Regions from separate parts of the Homo sapiens genome. Here regions 2 and 3 are each linked to region 1. Evidence: promoter capture Hi-C in 16 types of primary human blood cells and fetal thymus (Javierre and others, 2016). All regions are on one chromosome and are shown on one strand. Each heading gives the region's core, a stretch centred on a gene start or on the middle of the fragment in contact. The rest is flanking DNA. Distances are from core to core; before and after follow the strand shown. Region 1 holds the start of ZNF345 (zinc finger protein 345). Region 2 holds the start of ZNF836 (zinc finger protein 836). Region 3 holds the start of ZNF649 (zinc finger protein 649).

Evidence for each region. Contacts are between HindIII fragments. The CHiCAGO score rates a contact against its expected background, and 5 or more counts as called.
Region 2: a contact is called between a fragment that was not itself captured here and the fragment with the promoter of ZNF345 in region 1, in 1 of 17 cell types (non-activated CD4 T cells). The highest score is 6.1, in non-activated CD4 T cells.
Region 3: the fragment with the promoter of ZNF649 here is called in contact with the fragment with the promoter of ZNF345 in region 1 in 6 of 17 cell types (total B cells, total CD4 T cells, naive CD4 T cells and 3 more); the score reaches 9.5 in total B cells.

What each region holds. Positions count from the first base shown.
Region 1 is chr19:36,848,523-36,853,087 of GRCh38, reverse strand. ZNF345 (zinc finger protein 345) reads right to left here and starts at 2,212. Exons shown (of 3, transcript NM_001242472.2): 1 at 2,120-2,212; 2 at 1,184-1,258. It also overlaps a transcript of ZNF790 not described here. RefSeq lists an enhancer at 2,450-2,689. The HindIII fragment of the contact is 2,588 bases long and covers 1-2,449 here.
Region 2 is chr19:52,170,390-52,174,954 of GRCh38, reverse strand. It overlaps ZNF836 (zinc finger protein 836), which reads left to right and starts at 3,334. Exons shown (of 5, transcript NM_001102657.3): 1 at 3,334-3,619. RefSeq lists a silencer at 3,166-3,215 and an enhancer at 3,796-3,935. The HindIII fragment of the contact is 1,362 bases long and covers 1,722-3,083 here.
Region 3 is chr19:51,902,845-51,907,409 of GRCh38, reverse strand. It overlaps ZNF649 (zinc finger protein 649), which reads left to right and starts at 2,393. Exons shown (of 5, transcript NM_023074.4): 1 at 2,393-2,496. RefSeq lists enhancers at 1-243, 1,127-1,751, 2,242-2,361, 2,080-2,624, 3,715-4,260. The HindIII fragment of the contact is 3,228 bases long and covers 1,042-4,269 here.

The DNA.
Region 1 (4,565 bases), core at 963-3,462:
AGTCAAACCAGAGCAGGTGAAAATACTTATCACACATACAACTGAAAAAAGATTAATTTACAGAAGATATATACACATATGTACAACTGCCGTAAATCAGAGAAAAACCCAATTAAAAATTGGTCAAATATTTGAACAACACCTTATAAAAGGGGACATTCAACTGCACTCCAGCCTGGGCAATAGAGACTCAGTCTCAAAAAAAAAAAACAAAAAAAACAAAAAAGGGGACATTCAAATGGCCAAGAATCAATGCTCAACTTTATTAGCAATAAAGGAAATTTAAATTAAATATAACATTAGACACCCACCAGATTGGCAAAAATTTAAGAGTTTTATGATGTCTAGCATGGATGTGGAGCTAAGAAAACTCTTGTAAACTGCTGGCATAAGTACAGTATCTTTAGAGAACAGTTTGGCAATGTTTGGTAAAACTGAAGATGTACAAACCCTACCTATTAGCACTTTTTTTTTTTTTTTTTGAGATGGAGTCTCACTCTGTCACCAGGCTGGAGGGCAGTGGCACAATCTTGGCTCACTGCAACCTCTGCCTCCCGGGTTCAAGCGATTCTCCTCAGCCTCCCAAGTAGCTGGGACTACAGGCGCGTGCCACCACGCCCAGCTAATTTTTGTGTTTTTAGTAGAGACGGGGTTTCCTCATGTTGGCCAGGATGATCTTGATCTCTTGACCTCGTGATCCGCCCGCCTTGGCCCCCCAAAGTGCTGGGATTACAGGCATGAGCCACTGCATCCAGCCACTATCAGCAATTTAATCACTAGGTATATATTCTAAAGAAATGCAAGCAAATGTGTACCAAAATATGCGCACAAAATGATCATAGTCACACTGCCTGTAGTAGCCAAAAATTACAAGACAAATGTCCATCAAGAGTAGAAGGATAAGGCCGGGCACAGCAGCTCACGCCTGTAATTCTGTCTCAAAAAAAAAAAAAAAAAAAGAAAGAAAGAAAAAAAAAAGAAAAAGAAAAATTAAAACCATCTGACAAATCAGTAAGGGAAAATCAGGTGTGGGAGGTGGGGTTTGAAGACACCACATTTTCTCAAAATGGAAACTCCAGGGATCAGGTCATCTCATAGGCAAGAATTTTCAAGAGAAGGAAAGCAACTATGTCCTGACAAAGAAAAAGGGATTTTTCTTAAACAAGAGGACAGGACAAGCTACCTTGCAGGTGCCTTGTGGATGTTCAACAGCCATTCTTTACTCCTGTTCGGAGGCCTCTATCCAAGCAGGGCAGGGCTGAGGAAGGAGAAAGCAGTCAGGAAACATCAGGTTCTTCTGAGAGGGAGTTGGTTTGACTATGTCAGAAGTTATCTTTGCTCAGCCCCTACTGCCCATCACCTACAGAGGAAGGTCAGAGAAGTCTAGGGCATCCTGCTTAATCCGGGCATCACAGACAACGGTAGGGTCAATGCCGTTCTGGGCAGAACCTGTCCCTGAGCTCACAGGGGTCTCCAATGGCTGAAGTCACAAAGACAAAGACTCCCCATACCTACATTGGCTATACGGACACATAGTCACACAAACTCACTCACACCGCAGGGACATAAACGTCACAGGCACCCCAAACCTAAACACAACACACAATCACACACTCATACACACCACGGGGGTAGACACGGACACAACCACAGAGTCCGTGGGCATCTCTCAAATTCCCAGTGACATACACCTTGGGGTCACAATGACAACAAATTCACACGCACCCTCCATCAACAATATCACCAACGCGCGCGCACACACACACACGGAAGCAGCCACAAACCTCAAAATTAAGGCATACTACACACAGTTCGGCAAATGGTAGTAAACACACACACACACACCCCAAGGGGACATACAGTCACAACCGCGGTCCAGGAACCTCACACTCGCAAACACAGTGCCCAACCCGGTCACAATTAAACTCTACTCACACCCGCACAAACATAAACAAAAAGTCCTCCTCCCCGCCCTCACAGTTCCATACACGGTCGCACAGACACACGCCCCCAGTCACAACCGTACACACTCCTCACAATCGCTCCTTAGCCTGTTCCCCACGCAGCCCACACAGGTCGGGAGTTCCTGTCGCGCCAGGCTCCGAGCCGCCTCACTTACGCCTGTTCGGATAGGGTCAGCTCCGTTCTACTAGAATCCACACAAGTCGACCCTAGCTATCTCACAAAGCCCCAAGGCCGCTTGCCCAAATCCGCGGGAAGATCCCGCCCACTCCTCAAGAGACAATCTAGTTATCGCGGGAGAGTGCCCTGGGCCTAGAGGCTTCTGGGAAGTGTAGTCCAGAAAGCGACAGGTTGCCGAAAGCTACAGCCCAGCCATCCCGATTCCCCTGGCGCGGACTCTGGCACCAACAAAACTATCTCTTTGAGGTGAGCTGCCCATCGGAGCCTTCCGGGAGTCTCACCTGACAAGGAGTCCCTAGACCAAGCTTTAGTCAGGCTCCTCTGAGCCCTTTTTGCTTGGCCAGGCCTCCTCCATAGCCTGCGAACAGCACTTCAGCAAGAATCCAGCTAAGCCAGTTTAGTAACAATCCCCCCACTCTTGATACTTAACTTCCTCTTAGTAATTTAGCATCCTTTAACTCCTTCACCCAGCCCGTTAGCTATAAATCTCCAGCTGCTGTTGTATTGGAAGTTGACTATTGCAATAGTCTTTAACCAAGTCCTTCTTGCCTGTTTAAGTCCTCTGGGGCAAGCTTTCTTTCACCCCGCCCAGCCTCAGAGGGCGGCTCCCGGGCTTCCGCCCCTCCTCGGGAGACATACTGGACCGCAGGGTCTCCTGGGAAACGTAGTCCAAGCCTCGCCGGGGATAGATGGGCCCAACTAAAGTGTGCTGCGTTCTCTGGGTCCTGAGGCGGCAGTCTGGCCGCAGTGACCAGACTAACTGTGCCCCGGAGGCTGCTTGGAATTCCACTTAACGCTGGAAGCACGCAGACGCTCTTGAGGCGGGCAGCTGCGTAGCGTGTGGAGGAGCCGGGAGAGCGCACCCCAATGTGGCACCTGAGCGTCTGGGACCGAACCAGCATGGGGAGTCGGAAGGGGACAAATCCGCGATCCCAGTCATGCATGTGAGACTGGGCAAAGGAAGGCTCGAGTGTGTGTGAGACCGCGGTGGGCCTGCTTGTGCTGGTGGGATGAGGGGTGTCTGGGTAGTTGAGTGAAAGAAACCGCGTGCGGGTCAGATTGGTGTGTGTGTGAGAGAAGTGAGGTCAAGATGTGTGCAGCTTTGGGCGTGGGGAGGTCATATTGAGTGTGTGGAGGTGGGGGGGGCAAGATCGTGTATGGATCTGTGTATGAGTGTGTGTAATCACCTGAATGTGGGTCACTGCGTGGGTAGCTGATACTATGACTGTGGAGGAATCTGAACCTCCAAGTCTCATTTTCTCTTTAAATTGTGATAACAAGGTTGTATCTTCCTGGTGCAGCAGTTTTAAAGGGGGGAAGCTCCATTACTGATATAATAAAATAGCATTTTTTATGTAAACATTTAACATTCAGACATTTCTTCTGAACTAGAGTACAAAATCAGTTATGAGTACTCCAAGTAGTTTAAAAAAGAAACCCGTCATAATAGATGCATATGGGGAAGATAAATAGTGAAAGGGGAACTTCCTTTTCACTATACTCTTGTTAAATTTTTAAAATCAATGTGAGGACTCATTTGAAAACAAATATAAAATTAAAAAACTGACAGAAAGGGGAGCTAGGAGGAAATCAATAATTTTTTAAGCTAGAAACTTTGGGAGGTGGTAGAGGTTGCCGAAATATGATGGCAGGAAGTGTATGACAACAGGAAATGCTGATGTAAAATATAATCCTGAAGCTTTTAACAATGGCAGGAAGGGCCGGGCATGGTGGTTCATGCCTGTGATCTCAGCACTTTGGAAGGCTGAGGCAGGAGGATCACTTGAGCTCAGGAGTTTGAGACCAGCCTGAACAGCATACTCTCTACAAACAAAACAAAACAAAAAAACCAAGCATGAGTGCGGTGGCTCACGCCTGTAATCCCAGCACTTTGGGAGACTGAAGTGGGTGGATCACTTGAGCCCAGGAGTTCAAGACCAGCCTGGCCAATATGGTGAAACCCCGTCTCTACTAAAAATACAAAATTAGCTGGGCGTGGTGGTGTGCACCTGTAATCCCAGCTACTTTGGAGGCTGACGCAGGAGAATGGCTTGAACCCGGCAGACAGAGGTTGCAGTGAACTGAGATCGCACCACTGCACTCCAGCCTGGATGACAGAGTGAGACTCCGTCTCAAAAAACCCCCAAAAAACAAGGGGACCTCCTCTTTCGGCTTTGGAGCCACCACCCCCCCAACCCCCATCTCTGTATGGGGGAACTTCTTCCTTCTGTCTTCTCCCTTCCTTCTTGCCTATTAAACTCTCCGCTCCTTAAAACAAAACAAAATACAACAAACAAACAAACAAAAAGACCCAAAAAACAAAAACAACAAAATTTGGACTATACAGGCAAGCGATCTATACCTAATGTGGCTCTGTTGCTCTAGTTCTCCAGCATCACATTCCTGTACAGCTCCATCTGAAC
Region 2 (4,565 bases), core at 1,153-3,652, about 15 Mb before region 1:
CCTCTAAAAGCCTCTGATCATATGCAAAAGATGAAGTTCTGGTCTCAGGGAGAAGAATCCATCCATAGAATGTCACACTCCTGTGGGTCACAGCAAAGGACCACTGACTGAAAAGTCAATTGCGGATCACATACAGATCAGCCTTCTTTGAGTTTCTCGAGGAAGGAAAAATAGTATTTATTTATTGAGACGAAGTATTGCTCTGTCGCCCAGGCTGGAGTGCAATGGTGCCATCTCAGCTCACTGCAACCTTCCTGTCCTGGGTTCAAGAGATTCTCCTGCCTCAGTCTGAGTAGATGGGATTACAGGCGCCCACCACCATGCCGGGCTGATTTTTGTATTTTTGGTAGACACTGGGTTTCACCATGTTGGACAGTCTGGTCTTGAACTCCTGACCTCAGGTGATCTACCCACCTCAGCCTCCCAGAGTGCTGGGATTACAGGCGTGAGCCACCATGCCCAGCCCTTTTTTAAGATTTATATTTCTTTCTTACTTAATTACCTACTCATCTGAAGGAAATTTTTTTTTTTAAGACGGAGTATCACTCTGTCCCCAGGCTGGAGTGCAGTGGCGCGATCTCGGCTCACTGCAACCTCCACCTCCCAGGTTCAAGCGATTCCCCTGCCTCAGCCTCCCAAGTAGCTGGGTCTACAGGTGCGTGCCACCACGCCTGGCTAATTTTTTGTATTTTTAGTAGAGACGGGGTTTCACCATGTTAGCCAGGATGGTCTCGATCTCCTGACCTCGTGATCAGCCCCCGTCAGTCTCCCAAAGTGCTGGGATTACAGGTGTGAGCCACAGCCCCCGGCCTTGGAAAAATATACATTTTTTAAATTTTATCTACTTTACAGTTTGGGCGGCCAAGGCAGGAGGCTCACTTGAGCCCAGGAGTTCAAGACCAGCATGGACAACAACGTGAAACCCTATCTCTACAAAAAATTTGAAAATTAGTCAGGTGTGGTGGCACATGCCTGTAGTGCCAGTGTATTAGTTTGTTCTCACATTGCTATAAAGAAATACCTGAGATTGGGTAATTTATAAAGAAAAGAGGTTTAATTGGCTCATGGCTCTGCAGGCTGTACAGGAAGCATGATGCTGGCATCTGCTTGGCTTCTGGAGAGGCCTCAGAAAACTTACAATTATGGCAGAAGGTGAAGGGGAGGCAAGTACTTCACATGCCCAGACAGGAGGAAGACAGAGAATGGGGAGGTGCCACACACTGTTTTTTTTGAGCCTAGGTTGGAGGGCAGTGGCACGATCTTGGCTCACTGCAACCTCCGCCTCCCGGGTTCAAGCGATTCTCCTGCCTCAGCCTCCCAAGTAGCTGAGATTACAGGTGCGTGACACCACACCCGGCTAATTTTTCTTTTTTTTTTTTTAAGAGACAGAGTCTCACCCTGTCACCCAGGCTGGAGTGCAGTGGCGCGATCTCGGCTCACTGCAAGCTCTGCCTCCCAGATTCAAGCAATTCTCCTGCCTCAGCCTCCCGAGTAGCTGGCACTAAAGGCATGCGCCACCACACCTGGCTAATTTTTGTATTTTCAGTAGAGATGGGGTTTCACCATGTTGGCCAGGCTGGTCTCAAACTTCTGAGCTCAAGTGATCCATCCACCTTGACCTCCCAAAGTGCTGGGATTACAGGCATGAAGCACTGCTTCCAGCCAAATTTCCTCTTATCAAAACATCAGTCAGATTGCATCAGAGCCCATTCTAACAAGCTTAGTTTAACTTAATAGCCTCTAAATGCCCTATTTCAAAATACAGTCATATTCTGAGGTACTGGGTGTTAGAACTTAAAGACAATGATTTATTTTATTTTATTTATTTATTTATTTTTTGAGACAGAGTCTCGCTTTGCCGCCCAGGCTGGAGTGCAGTGGCTGGATCTCGGCTCACTGCAAGCTCCGCCTCCTGGGTTCACGCCATTCTCCTGCCTCTGCCTCCGGAGCAGCTGGGACCACACGCACCCGCCACCACGCCCGGCTAATTTTTTGCATTTTTAGTAGAGACAGGGTTTCACCGTGTTAACCAGGATGGTCTCGATCTCATGACCTTGTGATCCGCCCGCCGCGGCCTCCCAAAGTGCTGGGATTATAGGCATGAGCCACCGCGCTTGGCCAACAATGATTTTTTAGGGACGTGATTCAGCTCATAACATTCTGTACTCTGGACTCCCAAAATTCATGTCCTTCTCACATGCAAGATCCCTTCACCCCCATCCTAACATCTCAAAAGTCTTATTATTATTATTTTTTGAGACAGAGTCTCACTCTGTTGCCCTGGCAGCAGTTCAGTGGTGCAAAGACAACTCATTGCAGCCTTGATCCCCTGGGCTCAAGAGATCCTCCCACCTCAGCCTCCCAAATAGCTGTGACTATAGGCGTGAGCCACCATGCCTGGCTAATTTTTGTATTTTTTGTAGAGACAAGGGTCTTACTATGTTGCCCCAGGTTGGTCTTGAATTCTTGAGCTCAAGCAATCCTTCCACCTTGGCCTCCCAAAGAGCTGGGATTACAGGCCAGAGCCACTGCTCCTGGCCCATTTCAAAAGTCTTAATCCATTTCAGTATCAAACTCTAAGGCCCAAATATTACCCAAATATTATCTGAATCACATATGGGTGAGACTCAAAGTGTGGTTCATCCTGAGGCAAAATTTCTGTCCAGCTGTGAAACTGTGAAGCCAAAGAAGCTATTTGCTTCCAAAATACAATGGTGGGACAGGCACAGGATAGACCGTCAGCCCTGGAAACCACCCTTCTACTCTGTTACTGTAATTTTGATGTTTGTAGATTGCACATGTAAGTAAGCACATGCAGGATTTGTCTTTCTGTGTCTAGCACATTTCGCTTAGCATAATGTCTTCAGGGTTCCTGGATCCAGCCACGGCTGCACATCAGATCTTCACGGAGATCCTAGTTCCCTGACTACTGAGTAACTTCAGCCTTAACTGGCTTCAGCCTCACTGGCAAGACCCGATGGAGTCCACCAGGCTCGCAAAAATCGATTTTGACTTAAATCAGTTCAACTTGACAAGAAGAAAACATCTTAGTTTCCAACAGAAGTGGACCACAACTTTAAGCTTTGACCTTAAAGTCTAAAACATTAACTTAAAATAGGCAGGAAGCAACGCTGCTTCACAGGACAAGAAATAGTCACAAATACTCCTAAATCGGGAGAACAAAGACTTGCTGGGTGGAAGGCAGAGCGAATAACAGGCCCCGCCCACCAAACAGGTCCCGCCCACACCGCCCGTCCCGCTTAGCCCACCTGGCCCCGCCCACTACCGCATCAGCCTTGCCCCACCCTTTCAGGGTTCCCAAATCTGGCCAGTCTTTCTGCCCTTTCCCTTGCGGGTCGCACCCCGCCCAGGCCCCTCTCCCGCCCCAGGTCTCTCAGTCTTTTTTCTCAGGGCGTGTAGCTTCCTGCACACCCGGAAGCAGATCGCGCGGGGAAAAGATCACAGCGCTGCGCGTCAGTTTCCGTCTACCTGGACTAAACATTTGCTTCGCCCCGTCTGCCTGAATCGAACGTGCACTTGGCAGTCTTCCCTTGTCCATACCCGTTTCCTGGGGATCGCTACGGACCTTAAAATACCAGCAACAGCCCCTTCGCCCCAAGTAAGTCTGATAATTGCTTCCCTTTCGGTTTAAAAATCTCTCTGAGGCTGTTCCTTGCTCCCTGCCTTTCTGCCTTAGGACCATGTAGACAACCCCACTCAGGTCGTGTTCCTGCTTAAAACCCTTACTGACCTCTGCTTCGGCCCTGCGCCAAGTCGAGTCCTCACTCGGGAGGTGGATTCCCGCCCGTTGCGACCCCGGAGCTTCTCCGTCGTCAGCCCCTGGAGGGGAGCGCCCGCCGTCCGGCTCCTGAAGGAGTCGCTTCTCCTCCCAGGTCCTGGGATTCTGCAGACCCTCCCTGTCCTGAGACACCGTACCCCCTGCCACCTTGTGTCCTCCTCACGCCGGGTCCTTTCGCTCCCCAGGCTTCCCCTTCACAGCCACTGCTTTTCTCGATCCCCCCCTTGGGGGAGGTCACCTGAGTCTTGTGACACCCAGTGTTCTTCCTTCCCAAATTTTACTCCACTGGAAAATATGCTTTTCCGGGAGGTGGGCATCCTATTCCTCCCCTTTCTTACTGAATGTGTGGGTGAGAGGGATCAGGAGAGGAAAAGAAGGGGAGCGACGGAGCAAAAGGAAAGACCGAATAGAAGAGAATGAGGGAGACCCATAAATACACGGCAAAATGGATGATAATTTAGGGATTTGCAAAGAGACAGCAAGAGTGAAAGAGAACGAATGGAGAAAGAAGCAGGGGGAGGAAAGCACACAGAGAAATTTAGAAAAAAAGGGGGACCTTCAGAGAGATGAAAGGCAGCAAAATAGAGTGGGGCGGCAAAGGAGGAGGCACTGCAGACAGACAGTGGGGAGAAGGTGAAAGAGTTGGAGCCGCAGCCGACAGAGCTACGTGGTGCTGGGACTGAAAGAGAGGGAGAGAGGGCAGTGGGTGACAAGCAGAGTAGAGGGAGAACCACAGCAGGGAGGAAGCCTAGGGAGTTGGGGGTGC
Region 3 (4,565 bases), core at 1,144-3,643, about 15 Mb before region 1:
ATCAGGAGACAGGGTTTTGAGATCAACCGGTCTGACCAAAGTTTATTAGGCGGGAATTTCCTCTTCCTAACAAGCCTGGGAGCGCTATGGGAGACTGGAGTTTATTTCACCTCTGCAATCTCGACCATAAGAGACAGGTACGCCCGGGGGAGGCCAGTTCAGAGACCTACCCCTAGGTGCGCATTCTGTTTCTCAGGGACGTTCCATGCTGAGAAAAGGAATTCAGTGATATTTCTCCCATTTGCTTTTGAAAGAAGACAAATATGGCTCTGTTCCGCCCGGCTCACCGGCGGTCAGAGTTAAAGGTTCTCTCTCTTATTCCCTGAACAATTGCTGTTATCCTGTTCTTTTTTCAGGGTGCCCACATTTCATATTGCTCAAACACACATGCTGTACAATTTGTGTAGTTAACACAATTATTACAGGGTCCTGAGACGATATACATCCTTCTCGGCTGACAGGATTAAGAGATTAAAGCAAAGACAGGCATAGGAAATCACAAGGATATTGATTGGGGAAGTGATAAGTGTCCATGAAATCTTTACGATTTATGTTTACAGATTGCAGTAAAGACAGGCATAAGAAATTACAAAAGTATTAATTTGGGGAACTAATAAATGTCCATAAAATCTTCACAATCCATGTTTTTCTGCCATGGCTTCAGCCGGTCCCTCCGTTTGGGGTCCCTGACTTCCCGCAACAGCCTTGGTTGCATTTGAGCCTCTGAATATCTGTGTGGTTTGTGCAGTGAAGGGGTGGCCTGCCTCTCCACATCTGTGGGTGTTTCTCGTCAGGTGGGACGAGAGACTGAGAAAAGAAGAGATACAGAGACAAAGTATAGAGAAAGAAAAGTGGGTCCAGGGGACCGGTGCTCAGCATACAGAGGACCCGCGCCGGCACCGGTCTCTGAGTCCCTCAGTATTTATTGATCATTATCTCTACCATCTCGGAGAGGGGGATGTGGCAGGACAATAGGATAATAGTGGGGAGAGTGTCAGCAGGAAAACATGTGAACAAATGTCTCTGTGTCATAAACAAGCTTAAGAAGAAGGTGCTGTGCTTTGATATGCACATACATAAACGTCTCGGTGCATTAAAGAGCAGTATTGCCGCCAGCTTGTCTCACCTCCAGCCCTAAGGCGATTTTCTCCTATCTCAGTAGATGGAACATACAATCGGGTTTTATACCGAGACATTCCATTGCCCAGGGACGAGCAGGAGACAGATGCCTTCCTCTTGTCTCAACTGCAAGAGGCCTTCCTTCCTCTTATACTAATCCTCCTCAGCACAGACCCTTTACGGGTGTCGGGCTGAGGGATGGTCAGGTCTTTCCCTTCCCACGAGGCCATATTTCAGACTATCACATGGGGAGAAACCTTGGATAATACCTGGCTTTCTGGGGCAGAGGTCCCTGTGGCCTTCCGCAGTGTATTGTGTCCCTGGGTACTTGAGATTAGAGAGTGGTGATGACTTTTAACAAGCATACTGCCTTCAAGCATTTGTTTAACAAAGCACATCCTGCATAGCCCTAAATCCATTAAACCTTGAGTCAACACAGCACACGTCTCTGTGAGAACAGGGTTGGGGGTAGGGTTACAGATTAACAGCATCTCAAGGCAGAAGAATTTTTCTTAGTACGGAACAAAATGGAGTCTCTTATGTCTACTTCTTTCTACATAGACACAGTAACAGTCTGATCTCTCTTTCTTTTCCCCACAGTGCACTGTTGTTAGTGCTCCAACCTCACAGTGCAGGGGTTGAGGTGTCAGGAGAGGGAACACATCAGTGCCATTTCACTGTCTCCTGTGTCAAAGCAAAATTAAAATGCAGACCAGAATTCAAAAACTCCTGAGCAAACAAAACCCAGTAGGCCTTAAAAACAGCCTTAACCTTGCTTAACCTGCAAACATAAGCAACAATTCACTTGAGTCATTTCTGGTAAATGCTTGTGTTAGGGAAGGACAAAACTCAATCTCAACCGATCAAAAGTAGGCAACTCACATGCTATTATGTCATTAGGGACTTTCCAAGGCAAATTTAAAAAAATGCATTTTTATAATTGTAACTAATCAAATAATTTCTTTGTTTTACTCCTTCACTCACCCTGTGAATACTTGTGTCTAATGCTTTAAGCATAGAAGCGCGAGACTTCTTTTGGTTTGATGCTTCCTAATTCATGAATTGCTGTTTGTTCAGATAAACTCTAGAAAATGCTCCTGCGCCTCAAATTTTTGCTTTCAGGAGAGTCATCCCGGTTTAATGACACAAGAACAACTGTTTCCCTTCTGTACGGCAGATCTACCAAGATGGCCGCGCCCAGAGAGCCGTGGCTCAGGGCGCGGACATGTTACCTCCTCGAAGAGAAGCCCATGTCCCATCGTCCTAGCGCGGCAGAATTGACTCGCGCCCTCGTCCGCCGCCATAGGCCAGTGCCGGGGTTTAAGGGCCAGGAAAGGAAGCATTCAGGGAATTTAGGTGTAGCCAGAAGAAAATCAGGTGAGTGTTTGGGTCTCTCCGTGGAGTAGGTTAAAGGGGTAGGGAGCTTCTGAGGAGCCTGTGGGGAGAGCTGGCGGCCTGGGCGGTGGAGCCTTTGGGTTGGGGTGCCTTTGCGGTCCGGCGTGGGAGAGTTCTTGTGGTCGGGCGTTAAAGGTCTGTCGAGTTCAGCGACTGAGACTCGGCGTCAGAGTTTGGGGTCTCTGAGGGTCACTCTGTTAGTAGGCCTCTGGATCACTGGATGGAGAACTCTAGGGGGACGCTGCCCAGCACGCCGGCTTTATCACCGACGCCATTATTATCACTCCAAATGCTGCAGTTTAAAGTCGGTGATGAAGCCGGGGTGCTGGGCAGCGTACGAGGGTGTGTGGTGTAGGTTTTGGGGTGAATCGGGGATGTGTGTTAAGTGTTTCGGGGAGGCCCAGGCATGTGGGGCTCAGAGGCTTGTAAAATCTGGTATTTTACAAGCCCAGGCCCCTGGCTGGGGTTGAGTTGTGAAACTATAACCGCCCACCCTTGCCGGCTGCCTAGACAGAGCCGACTTGTTAAGACAGGGAAATTGCAATGGAGAAAGAGCAATTCATGCAGAGCCGGCTGTGCGGGGAGACCGGAGTTTTATTATTACTCAAATCAGTGATAAAAGAAAAATTGAAGCCGAATTAAATTTACAGGAGTTTCCTTGAGCAATGAACGATTCGCGAATTGGGCAGCCCCCAGAATCACAGCAGATTAACAGAGACTCCAGGGGTGCCTCGTGGTCAGAACAAATTTATAGACAAAAAAGGTAAAGTGACATACAGGAATCGGAAGCGAGGTCCAGAAACAGTGAGATTGGTTACCATTCGGCGTTTGCCTTATTTGAACGCAGTTGGAACATTCAGCAGTCTATGAGTATGGCCGCTGGGACTGGCCACCACTCAGCTATTGTTACAGGTGCATACGATTAAGTTCGGTTTTCAATTTTGTCTGTTAAGCTAGGTTGCAGTTTATCCACAAGGACTCAAATATAGAAGTATGGAGTCGTTCTCAGGCAATATTTAGTTTGCTTAAGCATCAGTCTCCTTGAGCATTTGGGGATCAAAGTTTCCTCCTATCCCCCAGACGGAATCTAGCTCTGTTGTCCAGTCTGGAGTGCAGTGGTGCGATCTCAGCTCACTGCAACCTCCGCCTCCTGGGTTCTAGCGACTGTCCTGCCTCAGCCTCCCGAGTGGCTGGGATTACAGGCGCCCGCCACCACGCCCGGCTAATTTTTGTATTTTTAGTAGAGACAGGCTTTCACCACGTTGGCCAGGCTGGTCTTGAACTCCTGACCTCAGGTGATCTGCCCGCCTCGGCCTTCCAAAGTGCTGGGATTATAGGCATGAGCCATCGCGCCTAGCTATGATTGTTACGATTTATAAGAAATGTATAATCGATCTTTGTCCTGTTTCCTGGCACATGTCTCCCAAAAGCCTTGGAACCTCTTCAGTAAACAGTGCCTTTTTGTGTGGCATTGAGATGGCTGGTGACTGGGGGCTTCTGGCTGGCCTTAGGACGGGGGAGGCTGGTTGCCAGGGCAACTAACCATGTCATTTGAGGGTTGGAAATTTTAGCTCTGCCTGGCAACAGGGAAGTTGAAGGTTGAGTTGATCACCAGTGGTTAGTGTTTTAATCAAGTATGCCCACATAATGAAACCAGCGTAAAAACTCAAAAGGACTGGTGAACTTCTGGGGAACTTACAGATTCTTGAGCATGTGGAGGTGCCTGAGGGTGGTGAACTGAGTCTCTAATAAGCTTCCGTGGAGGGCATGGAAGTCCCACGCCCCTTGCTACAAACCTTGCTCTGTGCTATCCCTTCCATCTGCCTCTTCATCTGTATCCTTCGTAATATCCTTTATTCCTTTTCCCATTTGCCCTGAGAATACTCACCTTTGGTGCTTGCAGCTGGAGCATTTACCCCGAGATAACTTTGCCATGAACGATCTCACTTTTATTATTTTCACATCGCTCTAGTAGGTCGCCTTGGGAAACAAAAGACATCATTCTACTTATAGCATTCTGTTTTTAGTAGTGGTATTTCCATTTACAAAAT